Regions from separate parts of the Homo sapiens genome. Here region 1 is linked to region 2. The links are contacts of gene promoters, found by promoter capture Hi-C in human tissues and cell types (Jung and others, 2019). All regions are on one chromosome and are shown on one strand. The core of a region is centred on a gene start or on the middle of the fragment in contact, and the rest is flanking DNA. Distances in the headings are between cores, read along the strand shown.

Evidence for each region. Contacts are between HindIII fragments. The study calls those that stand out against the background at their distance.
Region 1: a fragment that was not itself captured here is called in contact with the fragment with the promoter of MRO in region 2 in 1 of the 25 tissues and cell types used here (pancreas).

Annotation. Positions count from the first base shown.
Region 1 is chr18:50,775,700-50,778,626 of GRCh38, reverse strand. No RefSeq gene overlaps it. Among named protein-coding and RNA genes, the nearest start is that of MRO, 43 kb to the left of the region's middle. RefSeq lists an enhancer at 1,749-2,456. The HindIII fragment of the contact is 4,394 bases long and covers 1-2,927 here.
Region 2 is chr18:50,818,638-50,821,337 of GRCh38, reverse strand. It overlaps MRO (maestro), which reads left to right and starts at 1,322. Exons shown (of 8, transcript NM_031939.6): 1 at 1,322-1,441; 2 at 1,636-1,757. RefSeq lists enhancers at 1,118-1,167, 1,004-1,637. The HindIII fragment of the contact is 21,582 bases long and covers 1-2,700 here.

The sequences.
Region 1 (2,927 bases), core at 222-2,721, 43 kb after region 2:
ATCTCAGATAAGATCTTTTAAAGCTGAGCCCAACCACGGGTTTGTATCCTCAAATACCTGTGAGTTGGGTGATCCTCTCCTCTTAAGGTCCCAAGATAAACTTGGAGCTCCTAGACCTGTTAGAAAGTGACATTCTTTACTGGCCACAGGTCAGGAACCCTGTACAGGGACTGTGAAGATGAGGGTATGAGGCCAGTTTCCCCATGGGGCTTTTATTGGCTCTGCAATTCGAGCTTAACTCCTTAAAGGGAAGCATACCCTTCCAGTCAAAGCCTTAGTAAAATAACCATTTTCTCCAATTCTGTCCTGTTGCAAAAGAAAAACAAATTCTTATTGAACTGATGCAAACACCTATATTTCCATAGGTTAAGAATACTCAAAGATAGTTTCTAAGTTCTGGAGGAACCAGGCAGAGAGAAACAAACATCCTCCAAATTTTGATCATAGGATCAAAATGCTTAATTATTAAAGGCTGTAAATAGCTCAAAATAAGTTTCCTTGACTCTGAAAAACAAAACAAGGATCAGCAATATTCCAAGCAAAAGTCAAAAAGGTTGCTTCAGCTTCCTGAGTTCAGTCCATTTAGTTAACTCTTGTTTTGCTAGATATTTGTGAGCATTTCAGCTCATGAGTCCTGTACATTTTCCTGTATTCCAAAGTCACAATATCCAATTATCAGAAGCCTGTATTTGAGTGCACCTGTCAAAGTCCTACAGCTTATTATGAACTACGTTTTGAAAGGATTAAAACAAGACAACAACTGTCTGTGAATAGCAAAATGTCCAGGATAGTTACAGTTAGAAACACAAATGACAAAGAAGTGTGGTTATCTTCTGTGGTTTACAACAACGTAACATAACAATCTTAGTTATAATTGATAGCATATACTCAGACATTAGAATTTCAGCAATCTCATACAATTTTGGAACACATATTAGCATTATTCCCCAATATATAAACTAAAGAAGATTGAGCATTATTTTGGCAATCCCATGTACCTAAACATGTCAAACAATCCTGTTTACCTCTCTTTTCTGGACACTTCAGGCACCCTCTGAAGTATCTGAAAAGCTAGGTGCCATGGAAGACAATTTTGAAACTGAAGTTTGATTTTGGGAAGGCTGTTAATTGTTTGAGGTTTAAAACACTTGATATTATGAAATAGAATTCCAGATTACCATAAGTTATTTATTTTGCCAAAGAGCAGATTAGCGCCTTAGGAAAACTTTGTTATGCTTTTATTTCAATGCTCAACTTACAGAAAAACCATATAATACCCTTTTTTGAATTTAGTCAATATTTTCACACAGAGAACCTCTTCTCCAAGATTAATTTCCACAATTCTTCCACCACTTCTTTGAACCTTCAGCTTTTCCTATCTAACTCAAAACAATCCTTTAACCCTAGACCACAGTTTACATTTCCATGCCTTCTCATAACCTTTTCCAAAAAACAAAACAAAACAAAAACCACATTTTATTGTTTTTATACCCCTTGATTCTAAATCTATTTCCAGTAGTCCACAATTACATGTTATAATGGTAATCCCTCCTAATTTTTAACTTTAAGGTAAAACTTGGTAAGTTGCTTTAATTGTGTGCTAACTGCAGCCAAGGTCTGCCTTCTTAGTTAAAGGGTGGTTACTTCCACATGTCCCTAGGCCTTGCCAGTTGTGAAGCTGGCAAGTCAAATAGTTCTCAAAACCCAGAAAGCAGTTTGTAACCTCAAAATACTTAACAAACCTTGCCTCTGACCTGCATTTTACCAATAGTCTTTAGGGCTGTTTTTTTTTCTTGAAGGTTAAAGTCACCTGAACTGAAAGGTACTACAGCCTTTACCTTGCCTTAAGAAAAGTAGTTGATCCAAGGGTTTGCGCTTCTTTATGCCAAATTAATTAGAGCTCTTTTTACAGACATCATACACAGTACACACATTCATAAGAGAACCCAGTCACTGGCTGGGGGCCTTTAAGAGACAGGGATAGGAAAACATGCAGCTATCGAACCCGAGAGGGCTCATCCCCTCAGGCAGGACTGCTAAACAAAGCTGCCAAGTGGCTACCAGCTATGCCCTCAGGATAGAAAACAAGATGGAGGCTTGATTTCACAGCCAAAACTTTGCAGATAATACAGTGATAGTTGGGGGAGCGGTGGGGGGCTGGGGGGGTTGCCTAGCCTAGTAAAACATCTTCTAAAAGAAAAAACATTTTTTAAAGTTAACTTGCTGACTGGGTAGAGAAGGGGAAAGAAAAGAAAAAGTTTAATGCCTGGGGAAGAACGTCTTATTCTTATGCAAGTGGTTCCTCCACCAGGGAGACAAGATTTTTTTGTTCTGTTTTGTTTTTGTTTTTTGAGACGGAGTCTCTCTCTGTTGCCCAGGCTGGAGTGCAGTGGCGCGATCTCGGCTCACTGCAAGCTCTGCCTCCCGGTATTCTCCTGCCTCAGCCTCCTGAGTAGCTGGGATTACAGGTGCCTGCCCCCACGCCCGGCTAATTTTTTTTTGTATTTTTAGTAGAGACAGGGTTTCACCGTGTTAGCCAGGATGGTCTCCATCGCCTGACCTCGTGATCCGCCAGCCCCAGCCTCCCAAAGTGCTGGAATTACAGGCATGAGCCACCGCGCCCCGCCAGGAGACAAGTTTAAGCTTAATCACTGTCCGATATTGTTAAAGCCCTTGGCCAGGGAAGGGGAAGGATGCATGTTGCTGGGAACCAGACAGCCAGCTGTGCGGGACGCTTGGGCCATGCATCCCAGCCCCGGCAGGGAGAGGGGAGCCATGGTGAGCTCCCTGGTGGGTCCTGAAAAAGGAAGGAAAAGGCAGTGAAAAAGTCCAGGAGCGATGGGGGTGGGGGGCGGTAGGGGTGGAGGCATGGTTTCCCCCACCCTCAGAAGTCCGAGGATGAAAAGGCGTAAAAGCAAGAGTGAGAG
Region 2 (2,700 bases), core at 73-2,572:
GGCTGCCTCCCAGTTGCAGGCAGAGGCAGCCATCTTTCTTCCTCCTCCAGAGCTAACCCTTTCCCTCGTGCCCTTGATGCCCCCTCCACCTCTTCCTATTACCACTACTTGGCACCAGCCACATATTAGGGCTCCCTTGCAACCACTTTCAAACAAGGCCAGGCTTTATTCCATTTCAAAAAGCACACAAGAAAACCAAAATGCTTTTGCCTGACCTTGCTGTCTCTTCTAGTCTATTTATTGCTTTCCTTTTGCAGCAAGACATCTCAATTTCCTCTTTCCTCATAGCCCCTTAGTTTTGCAGTCTAGCTTCCTTTCTCTGTCACTCTATTGAAATTGTGTCCTCAAATGTCACAGTGGTTCCCTTGTAACTTAATCTGAAGAGGGTGGTGTTTTAGCCTCATTCTTCTTATTTTCTCAGCAGCATCGATTTTCTTTCTGCCTTTTTCTTTCATCTTCCACTCTGACATAGTTCTCTGGTTTATATTTTTCTGTTTATCTCCTGGGTTTTCTAGACCAGTCCAGTGCATAGCATCATGGCTGAGTCCAAGCTCTTACATTAGCCTGCCTGTAGCTGAATTTTAACTGCCACAAATTAACTGCATGACCTTTGTCAAGGTAATCTCCCTGTGCCTCAGTTTCTCCAGCCTTAAAATGGAGACTATAGTAGGAGTATTAACCTTTGGTTTGATGTAACAATTGAATGAGATAGTCTATGTAATATTTATCACAACATTTGGCACACAGAAGTTTTAATTGAATGTTATCTATTAGCATAACAATAAGTGCCTCTGTCTTTGAAAATATAACTGTTCTTTTTTCCTTTCAGGACATATTTTCTCCCTTTATGACCCAATGCAGAGCGAGACGATAACTAATTATTGTTAAATAGATTTATGCACGTGTTTGGAGAGTCAGGGAAGGAGGGCTGATGAGAGAGAGAGGCTCCTAAATTCTGCAGGTGCTGTAATTCCCCGGTTTTAATTTTGCTTTGCTTTTTACCAATAAATCATTTTGAGAGCTTAAATCGCTCCTTTCGGGACATACGGTGTTTCTTGAGCAGGAAGGGACGTCAACGGTTAAAGCTCTTGTTGTTGGTGCAACAATCAGCCACGATGAGGCTGCTTGGCATGGAACACAGTGTCCCATCCTTAGATTAAATGCGCTCTAACAGGATTATGTAAGGAAGGAGGCAGCCACGGCGGCGGCTTTGTGCAGGGGTCGCCTGGAACCCGTCCATTGAGTCATGCCGCCATCTCGCGGCCGCATGGGGAACGGGCCTTGGCAGGGAGGTTTTGTTTGGTGCAGAGGAAAGGTCCCCAGAATTGCCATCTGCAGAATTTCTGCAGAAAGTGTCGACCAGGCTGGCATGAGGGAAGAAGGAGGGGAAATCACAGCAAGGAGAAGGAAAAACACCTCAGCATGGCGTGGGGAAGCAAAGGTAGCAAGTCATGCTTGTGCCACCCTACAATATTCTTGTCGGTTTCATTCCAGAACAATTCCCTCCCCTGCCCAAATACTCTATAAACTTTGACTTTCCCCTCTTATTTGATTCTCACTTTCCAACACTCTGTGCCGACCCGTTATCCTGGACAGACCCTGCGTCACCTCCTAATTTCCCTTCTTGTATGTTAGGAATTCAGGGCTGGGAAAATTTAGCCGAGTCATCACATTTGGCTACTACCCGGGAAAGCAGCCCTCCCGAGTCAGGAACGGGCTCCGGTTCATCACGTGGCAGCCGCCTGCAGGAGCCGCAGGTAAGGGACACTGTTGGCCGGGGCAGCCAGATGCAGCGGGAGGCGTCCTGGCTGCACTTGGGTTCCCAAAACCTTTCTGGAATGTCACTCTGGTCACCAGTATGGGAGCTCGACCTCTAGGGGGTAGGATTTGGTAATGTTCTCTTTGTAAAACTGAAGTGGGCAATGTTGACCAGGAAGCTGATTTTGTTTGCTTTTCACAAACTATGTTAATCGATCAATAGTTGGGTTATAGATCATTCTATTGTCAGCAATATAATAGAATGGCAGGGACTCAGGGAAGATATTGACACTTTAAACTGAAATGTCTATGCGGTCTGTCTTCCCTCGTTCAGCTCACAGGACATTGCCTGGGAGCTGAACCTAGGCTTATAGCACAGTGACTGAAAGGATATCTTTCAGAGTCCTAAAATCTGCTCTGCCAGTATTTGACTTTGAGTTAATTGTTCAACATTACTTTAAGCCCAGTTTCTTCTTTTCTAAAATGAAGACGATTTTTTTAATATTAATTTTTTTTTTCATTTTTTTGAGACAGGGTCTTGTTGTGTTGCCCAAGCTGGGGTGCGGTGGCCCGATCTCGGCTCACTGCAACCTCTGTCTCCTGGGTTCAAGTGATTCTTCTGCCTCAGCCTCCTGAGTAGCTGGGACTACAGGTGTGCACCACCATGTCTGGCTAATTTTTGTATTTTTAGTAGAGGCGGGGTTTCACCATGTTGCTCAGGCTGGTCTTGATCTCCTGACCTCAAGCAATCTGCCTGCCTCAGCCTCCCAAAATGCTGGGATTTATAGGCATGAGCCACCACACGCAGCCTACTATTGTCATTTATAAGTTCAGTGTTGGAAGGATTTTTAAGCAATCTAACAGTTTCTTCTGCTCATTTTACAGATGAGATAAAATCAAAGTGTTTTATAATTTTGGCCTTCATAATATACCTTTTGGCTT